3 separate regions of the Homo sapiens genome follow, and all the other regions are linked to region 2. Evidence: promoter capture Hi-C in human tissues and cell types (Jung and others, 2019). All regions are on one chromosome and are shown on one strand. The core of a region is centred on a gene start or on the middle of the fragment in contact, and the rest is flanking DNA. Distances in the headings are between cores, read along the strand shown.

The links. Contacts are between HindIII fragments. The study calls those that stand out against the background at their distance.
Region 1: a fragment that was not itself captured here is called in contact with the fragment with the promoter of TNR in region 2 in 1 of the 25 tissues and cell types used here (H1 embryonic stem cells).
Region 3: a fragment that was not itself captured here is called in contact with the fragment with the promoter of TNR in region 2 in 4 of the 25 tissues and cell types used here (H1 embryonic stem cells, bladder, dorsolateral prefrontal cortex and 1 more).

What each region holds. Positions count from the first base shown.
Region 1 is chr1:175,574,826-175,578,005 of GRCh38, reverse strand. All of the region lies in intron 1 of TNR (tenascin R), which reads left to right. Among named protein-coding and RNA genes, the nearest start is that of TNR, 170 kb to the left of the region's middle. The HindIII fragment of the contact is 3,604 bases long and covers 1-3,180 here.
Region 2 is chr1:175,741,956-175,744,869 of GRCh38, reverse strand. TNR (tenascin R) reads left to right here and starts at 1,275. Exons shown (of 23, transcript NM_003285.3): 1 at 1,275-1,644. The HindIII fragment of the contact is 10,162 bases long and covers 1-2,914 here.
Region 3 is chr1:175,906,142-175,909,043 of GRCh38, reverse strand. LINC02803 (long intergenic non-protein coding RNA 2803) reads left to right here. Exons shown (of 5, transcript XR_001738304.2): 3 at 274-497. Among named protein-coding and RNA genes, the nearest start is that of LINC02803, 14 kb to the left of the region's middle. The HindIII fragment of the contact is 3,756 bases long and covers 1-2,902 here.

The DNA of each region.
Region 1 (3,180 bases), core at 550-3,049, 170 kb after region 2:
CAAAGCAATTTCCTCCTTATATTACAGAGGAGGAAGCCGAGGTTCAGGGAGGTGAAATAACTCGCTCAAGGTCACACAGTTAATATGTAGGATATTGACAACCCACTCTTAGTTATCTGCATGAGCAATGGCATGGATAATCTTTCCCTGCAGAAAAATGTGAAACTCATTTCTAATAGGCTCGGGAATATAGCATTTGGGGCAGTAGATTTCCCTCCTCGTGCTGCTCTGCTGCAGCTGGACCATCAAATACAGTGCAGGAAAGGCCAATGGGTAGACCACAGATTCTGAACACTCTGACAGTTAGCGTGGCCCTCCACAGAAACGATATTATAGATGGCATTATTTACAGGCGCAGGAAGGGTCAGTATGATAGCTGCCAGCCCCTTTCCCTACCTCGCTCCCAAACCCGCACCCCCAGCCCTCCAAGCCACTTGTACTTCCTGAGCACCCACACTGACCAAGGCTTGTGTGGGGCAGTGTCAGACATCTAGTGAAGATGGAAGATTCCAGTGTGGCCTCAGATAAATCATGGCAAGAGTAATTGATTGTCTGTTGTGTGTTAGGCAGCAGGGAGATCCCGGAAATGGAACCGTCATGGCCCAAGAGGGTGACCAGGGAATCCTCAGGTCACTTGGTCAAGTAAAAGAAATGTCTTCACTCCCAGACCTAGCAAACTCCTAAAACGCTGATCCCAAGGACAAAGAAAAGTAATAACAAGACACAACCTGCCCAACAAACTGTGGGGGAAGTTATTGAACTACTTGAAGGCAGTTACCCCAAATTCTTCCCTGGGCCCCTATTGTCTCTAGAGTTGGATCCAGACTCCCTAGCCTGAGATTCAAGACTCTCTGTAGCCTACATCTTGTACCCTATATATGCTTACCCCGCTGCATGAACTCCCTTTCCCTGCCAGATGAGAATAACACAAGGTCTCTAATCACCCTGCATATGGTGTGGGGGAATGAATTGAAACCCCCAGGGGGCATGCTTGAAAAAGAATGGATGGCCCTTCTTTGGCTAATTACCAGGGTCTTTATATTAGTCTTTGAGGATTTTACAGAGTCCAGTGATGGGAAAACACATGCATCTCAATTATCATACACAGAGTAGAGAAATAATGAGCACTAAAATAAGTTGTAATTAGTGTGAATTGGGAGCACAGAGGAAGAGGAGCCTTATTTTGGTTTGGGGGTTTAAGAAGGCTTCATGGAAGAGGTGGCATCTAAAAAAATAGTGTCTCAAAAATGAAGTAGGATTATGCAGAGTCTCAAAAAATGAATAGGATGTATACAGATATTCTAAGTGAAAGGGTGAACATTTAGCAAAGGATAGTAAAGTTTATGAAGTATTTACAAGCTTGGGATGGTGTGGTGGGATGATGATGGAGGTGGGGAAAGATCATGCTTTTATGTGAGTAGCTGGTGTCACTAAGGATAAATTCCTAGGGGCAGTGGCCTTGTCTTTGTAGCTGCTGTGCCTAGTACAGTCAGGGCTGGTCCTGAAAGAATATTTCTGATCATTGGTGATAGATGGTAATCATGATGGCCTGTGCAAGGGTGGTACCAGTGCTGCTTTATGAGACTCAAGTCACTGTCGCAGTGAGGCTAAGGATCACCCACCAGCGCCCGGAAATACTGAATAGATTTCTGACTGCACTTCCTCCTCTCCTCCCACCTTGCTCAAATTCTCTCCACCTGACTTTGCATCTCTTTCAGGGAAAACCGGTGGGAAATTGCCAAGCTGACTGAGAGCCCCCTGCCCATGGTGATAGACCCTGTCACAGAAAAGTAATTTCTTTTTAAACTTCTATCCAGTGAAATCCCGCAGCTGCACACAGCAGGCCCAGCTGTGCCATCACTGCCATCCTACCACAGCAGTGCTGGGGAATAAAGGAAAATTCTTAGCATTAAATTTCATGTAAATCAGACTTTATTTGCTCTGGTGACGGGTTATTACCTTCTGCAGAGAATGAGGGGAAAAAATAGCTGCTGGCTGGAGGCACAGCTCCCCAAATGAGGATGTCTCGAATCGCAGCCCCTAGCAGAGCAGGCCTGGGCCATCCACTTTGCCACACCTTTTCCTTTGCCCCCACAGCTCCCAGGAGGATGACTTTTCCACTGGCATCTGCAGGCTCCAGCTTGGTTCAACTTAGCAGTGCAGTCCCCACCACTTAGCCTTCTCACTGCTTGTGTGGGGACAGCAACTTTTACCAACTGCCTCCTAAGCCCATCATACACAGTCCCCCGGTGCACTGTGGTGCGGGCTCTCTCCCACCTGGAATGCTCTATCCACTGCTGTCTACCTGGTTACATTCAATCTAGCCTTCAAGGCCCATCTCAAGTCCAAACCTCCACAAAGTCTTTCCTCACTACCCAATCTGAGGCACTCTCTCTCTCTCCTTTGAGTTCTACTCCTCTTTAGCCTCTGACTGATAGACTCCTATTAGCAACCAATACATTTATTGGGTGTCTATGTGCTAAAAATGATGGTTGGCATGTTCCTCATGTGTTCGTCAACCAGGCTGTGACAGGCTGAGGGTAGAGATGAGTACCCATGAATGCTTCTATCCAACCACGGTGCCTAGCACAAGGCTTGCACATAGTGGATTCTCAATAAAGGTGTTGGTCCCTGATAGAAGTATATCAGTCAGGACAGGCTAGGTTATGCTATAGTAAAAAATGCTCCCAAATGCTCAGTGGCTTAAAACAATGTAAGTTTATTTCTTGTTCACACCACCTGTCCATTGCAAGTTAGCTGGCAGACTCTGCTTATTTTAGTTTCTCAGGGACCCAGGCTGTTAGAACAGCCACCAACTTGAATATTGCTTGGGAAGGTCTCACACTGACAATGAAATAAAGCTTTGTCCTGGAAGTGACATGGTGTACCTCCACTCACAAGCCACATGGCCCCAGCAAACCTAAAGAGGCCAGAAAGTGCAATCCTGCCAGGCCTCCAGAAGGCAGAGAGCAAGAGATACTTGGTCAATAGCACCAATGACTTCTCCAGACTGCTTAGTTACTAAATTCCATGAGGAATGTGCTACATCTGTTTTGTCCACCACTGAATCCCTAATGGCTGACACAGTACATAATAGGTACTCAGTAAATACATAGGCTGATAGTCAACTTTTTCTGACCCTTTATCTTCATGCAGAACGGAGCTCATGTGCTTTCTTGG
Region 2 (2,914 bases), core at 26-2,525:
GCTCCAGGGTCAGATGGCTCAGGTTCCATTACCATCCCTGACACTCACTAGTTGTGTGATCTTTGGAAAGTTATTTCATTCCTCTGTTACTCAGTTCCCAGTCTATAGAGTAGCAATAATAGCCTCTGCATTATAGAGTTATTGTATGGCTTAAATGAGCTAATACATGTAAGGGCTTATAACAGTGCCTAGCACCTGGTATAAACACTCTATAAATGTTAGCTATTGTTATTTGCCAGGAGTGAATCAAATATAAGAAGAGTGTTTGTATAAGATTACCTTTAAATTCCCTGCCAATCCTGAGGTTCTATGTTTCTATATCATTCCAGTCCCTTAGCATTCCTATTCAGTAGGGAGGGGGCAGCATTATCCACATTTTACAAACAGTAAAATTGAGCCATAGAGAAGCAAAATGTCCAGTAAGCAAGTGGCAGTCTGAAACCAGGACTCAGATTTTTAGATGTAAGTATTAGGACTCTTTCCGGGAGGCTGTGTGGCTGTACATTTAAAAGAGAATGTTAGATATCCCTTATGAGCCTATGAGCAGTGACCCCTTGATGCCCCTTCTCTGCCAAGGTTCTCCATAAATGTGCATCAAGGTCACTTCTGTCTCTACTTCTGAGATGATCTCAGGCCATATCTTTTCAGATATTTTTCTTACTAGCTTTACAAAAAAGCTATATTGTGGAGTTGGATGAAGGGCCAGCTCCCTGTATCCTCTGCCTCTTTAGGCATTCCCATGCCTGGGTTGTGCTACGTATACACATACTTCACCTGGCTGCAGACGCTGACTTTTTGGAGGGTTCCTTCTGCTGAGCCCGGACCTCAAACCACTTGAGAACCCCACAACTGACCTTATTCCAAAACATTCTATCCCAACCCATTCCACCCTGGATTTCTCCTTCAATCATGGGCAAAGGATCTGCAAAAGCTTCCATCCTCTCCCTTTCTCTTCTTATCTGGGTTGGTCAGAGGGAAGCCTCTATCTTCTTCAGGACCCTGCCTATGCAGAGGCAGCTCCAAGAGTTGGGTGCGGGGAGTATTTCTGTGCCTGAATCTGGACTGTTCAAGAGGATTTAGGATGCTTTTCTTTTCTGTCCACTAGGGGGCTGCTTGTAGGGGGATGGAAAAAACGGAGGCTTAAAAAAATCATGCTGCTGAAATTTCAGCAAGAGGGGAAAAGAGAGAGCGCGTGAGAGAGAGAGAGAGAGAGAGAGAGAGAGAGAGAGAGAGAGAGAGACAGCAAAGCAGTCCCAGGCTTCCTCCTCTCTTTCACGTCAGAGGCAGGAACCGACTGTGCTAAGGCTGTTGGCTCAACACCCAGAGGAGACGGGCAGACCCAGGGAGAGTGAGAGAAGGGGGTCCTCTCTGACCCAAGGAATTACCACTAGTGGAGTGAAGCCACCTGACTTTTTGATCTTATTTTGGTTGCCTCCTCATTCTCCTTCCACCCGTAGCCCTGACAGCTTGGGTTTCATTTCTTTCGTGGAGCCTTGTCTCTTCCTCCCAGAATAGGAGGAAGGGAAGAGAAGGGAAAGAGGAGGGCTCTCTAGGTGAGCGCATCAGCTGGCTCCAGCCTGAGCAAGCAAGAATTTTCTTCCCAGGAAGCTCCTCTCGCTCCCCGGCCGCCCACCCCCAGCCTGGGTAAGTCCAGAGCACTCGCTCCTTTGATTTTCTGGCTAACGTGATTTCAGCACCAAGGAGAGCTATGAGATGCATTTTGGTTCCTGTGTATCTGTGTGTTCTGCAAGGCATTTGGCACTAGGGTTACATCTATTTCTCTGCTGCCAGTAGAGTCGGGTTCTGCGTAGGGAAAAGAAAGGCGCAAAACTATGTTTACCGAATTAAAGGGGGATTGGACTCTGGCCTTGCGGGTGTGTGTGTGTGTGTGTGTGTGTGTGTGTGTACTGTTGCATAAGACAGGTGAGGTCTGAGCTAAATTGCGGGTGGTTTCTGCGTGTCTCCATGTAAGGCTGTTCTTTTTGTCTGTAGATAAGCGAGATGGTTTGGGGAATTAGTCGTGCACCTTCTTTAACTCTCTCCCGACAAGCCATCCATGGTGGGAAAGAGTTGCAAAGGAAGCCTGGGGGGTTGGGAGTGGAGGTAGAGTTAAAAGTTACGCACCTCTGAGAGAGCTTTAAAGAGGTGCTTTGTAAAATGTCAGTTTCCTAGTATTCTCTGGGCTCTTGCTGTGGAGAGAGCCCAACCTGACCTTTTACTTTCTCTTCTGGTGTGAACCCATGGTAAGTGGGCAGGTGCAACAGGTGAAGCTCAGGCTGGGGCGGCTTTGGGGGGTTGAGGTCCCTTCTGACTTCATGGTGGTAGGAAAGTGCTAGTGTCTTGAGCTTTGCAGAGACTGGCTGGTGTGGGTTATATTACATTTGCAAGGAGGCAGGAGGTACCCTCCACTTTTATGCCATCTTTGGCTATGGGTGGTTGGAAAGAAGACAAAGTCTGTTCTGCCCTGTTTTCTGGGGCATTTGGCAGTGAAAAACAACTAAGAATAAAGGTTTGTCTCTATATGTCTAGGGTGAGCAGAAACAAAATTAGACTTGTCCCAGACTCAGGAGGGCTTGAAGTGGTACTCTGTTCTCCTCCAGCACTGAGAGGCTCTGCAAACAGGAGCTCATTATTACTTCTTTCTTCACTGCTGCTACTTTTTGCAAGGTATTACTCTGTCTCTCCTGCTTTCTGCCTCTCTGAAGTATGTTCAGTCAATTCCCTGCATCTGCTTTGGTATTGTCTTGGAGACACTATAGGCCTGCCCCTGCCCCATTCAGTCCTGGCCACACCTACCTGGTTGAGTCATTCAACAAGTGGTGTTGAGGATTTCCTTCAATCATTCAAGTCTCCGTGGAGCCAGCATCCTACAGGGAACTTGAAAGAGATGTGGCTTCTTGTAGGAGCAAGTCTT
Region 3 (2,902 bases), core at 314-2,813, 160 kb before region 2:
ATAAGAAATAATGTTTAACCTTCTTCAAGTTATGTTTTTATGGATATGCTATTAATATATGTTTCAAAATTATAAGAGATTCCTAAAATTCTGATATGCCTTGTTATGTTATTGGTTATAATTATGGTTATTATGCAACAGAAATAACCAAATTTATTTGTCATTTTTGTCTTTAACCATGACTATTTTAAGTTGTTTCCACAGTTAACTGCTTAATTCTGATGCATTTTCTTTTTTCTTTCTCCCTTTTTTTTTTTTTTTTTTTTTTTTTAGAGACGAGGTCTCACTATGTTGCCCAGGCTGATCTTGAACTCCTGGGTTCAAGAGATCCACCCATCTCAGCCTCCCAAAGCGCTGGGATTACAGGTGTGAGCCACCGTGCCCAGCCCTGATGCATTTTCTGAAAGCTCTTCAGAAGCAAGTAAATTGCTAAAGTATTGTGTCTCCTAAAACGTTCATGGAAAGGATAGAAAGGACCCTGACATCATTTGCGCTGGGTAAGAATTCCCAGAATTCTAATGAAGAGACTGACTGGTTTATAAAACTGCTAATCCAAGCAAGACAAGAATTAATTGAATACCAAGGAAATACTTTGCCAGATTTTCATGCTAGATAAGCCAATAATGAAATTGTTAAGATCTGCAGTTTCAATAAACTCCATAGTCCAAGCCAAATTACCTCTGATAACTCATCTAATAAACAGTGCTATGCACCTGTATTGGAGAAACAAAATTGGTGTTTACGAGGTTATAAATTAGTTGTTAAATGTGGACTCATGGAGAACCTGGATAACCACATGGTCCCTCTTACATCCTTAAAGCCTCCACTATTAAAAGCTCTGCAATTTGTATATATGGAAGACAATAGAAACTTCTGGTTTTTGCTACCTGATGTGCCATTTGGACATTTATAGAGGGATTTTATTTCTCTGCCATTTTCAGTGCATGTTTTCTAGATGTTTAGAAGCTTTTTCATGCAAGAAGACTGATGGTATAACAGTGGCTAAGAGGTTATTAGGAAATGTGTTTCCCTCATGGGGCATTCTGGAGAAATCTCCAATGATAGAGGTATTTGTTTCACTGGACAAGTTGTAAAACAGTTAAATAAAGTTTACAGATACAACAGCATTAGACAAAGTTAACTGAATTGGCTGGATTTCCTTGGTCAATGGTATTGCAGATTGATTACAATTAGATCCACTTTCAATGGAAAATATAAGTTGACCCCTTATGAAATAGTCACTGAAAGGTTTGTGCCCCTAATAATAGGACCTCATGTATCCTCTGCTCCTAAACTCTGAAATGACTAAATGCTGCAAATCTTTAATGCATTATGCCAAAGTGCACTTTTTTTTTTTCGAGATGAAGGAAGCTTTTCATGATGCACTAACTGAAGACAATGAAACCCATTATGATCTAGAACCTGGAGACTGAGCCTTCTAAAAACATCAGAACCAGCATGGCACATGTATACATATGTAACTAACCTGCACATTGTGCACATGTACCCTAAAACTTAAAGTATAATAATAAAGAAAGAAAGAAAGAAAGAAAGAAAGAAAGAAAGAAAGAAAGAAAGAAAGAAAGAGAAAAAATCAGAAAAAGACTGCCCTTGCCACCTACACTGCAGCAATAGAATCTCTGGTCCATGGAGTCACTCATGCTAAATGTGACATAATCAAACTGAAACTTGAAACTTGAAACTATGGAAGCAGATAGATCCCAAAGCAGACTACGGTTATTTTTTTTCTGTCTCTCTCCTGAAACAGGAGACTCTAGCATAAGAAAGCCCCTTCTGGCCCGGTGCGGCGGCTTACGCCTGTAATCCCAGCACTTTTTGCTTGAGCCCAGGAGTTCAAGACCAGCGTAGGCGACAGAACAAAACCCCATCTCTACTAAACGTACAAAACTTAGCTGGGCATGGTGGCAGTCGCCTGTAATCCCAGCTATTCGGGAAGCTGAGGTGGGAGAATCACTTGAACCCGGGAGGTGGAGGTTGCAGCGAGTCGAGATCGCACCACTGCACTCCAGCCTGGGCGACAGAGTGAAACTCCTTATCAAAAAGAAAGAGAAAGAGAGAGAGAGAAAGAGAGAGAAAGCCCTTTCTGGAGTAACCCTTACAAAAAAGTAACCTGAAGTCCTTGTTCCCACCTTACAAATTCCACTGCTTTGCTATTTCCCAGTGGGATTTGAGTCCAAATAAGAACGTTTATGATAGCGACAGAGTGACATCAATCGCCTAAAGAGAGGATTTGTTAAATTAAGTTTAACCTAAAACTGCCTCCTTACATATTTAAATTTGGTCTAAAAGTTTCTTCATATAAAGTGAACTGTAACCTAACTGGATTTGTAAACAGACTATAACCTACTCTTGTAACAAATAGCTGAATCTTAGCCAATTACAGCAGCCGAGTTTCAGTCAATCACAGGTAGCCAACTGTTCACACCATGTTCAAATAAAGCAAGCACTGAGCTGTAACTAATCTGGCTATCTCTGTACCTCATTTCTGTTTTCTGTTCACTTTCCTTTTTCTGTTTAGAAATCCTCCCTGACCACATGGCAGTGCCAGAGTCGCTCTGTACCTACCGTGGTTCTGAGGGCTGTCTGACTCCTAAATCATGCTTTGCTCAATTAAACTCTGTTAATTAATTAATCATTTAATTTGTCTAAAGTTTCCATTTTAACCAGACTTAAAGTGTATATATATATATGTATATATATACACACATATACACATATATATGTATACACACATATATATGTGTGTGTGTGTGTATAGTCACACTGATAGTAACTATGTCTTTGGTGTCTGTCATGCAACAGAGCAAACAATTTTTTAAATAGAGGGAATAGAACTGAAAAAAACCTCCTATCCAATTGGTAGCTGATTTATTAGGAGTTT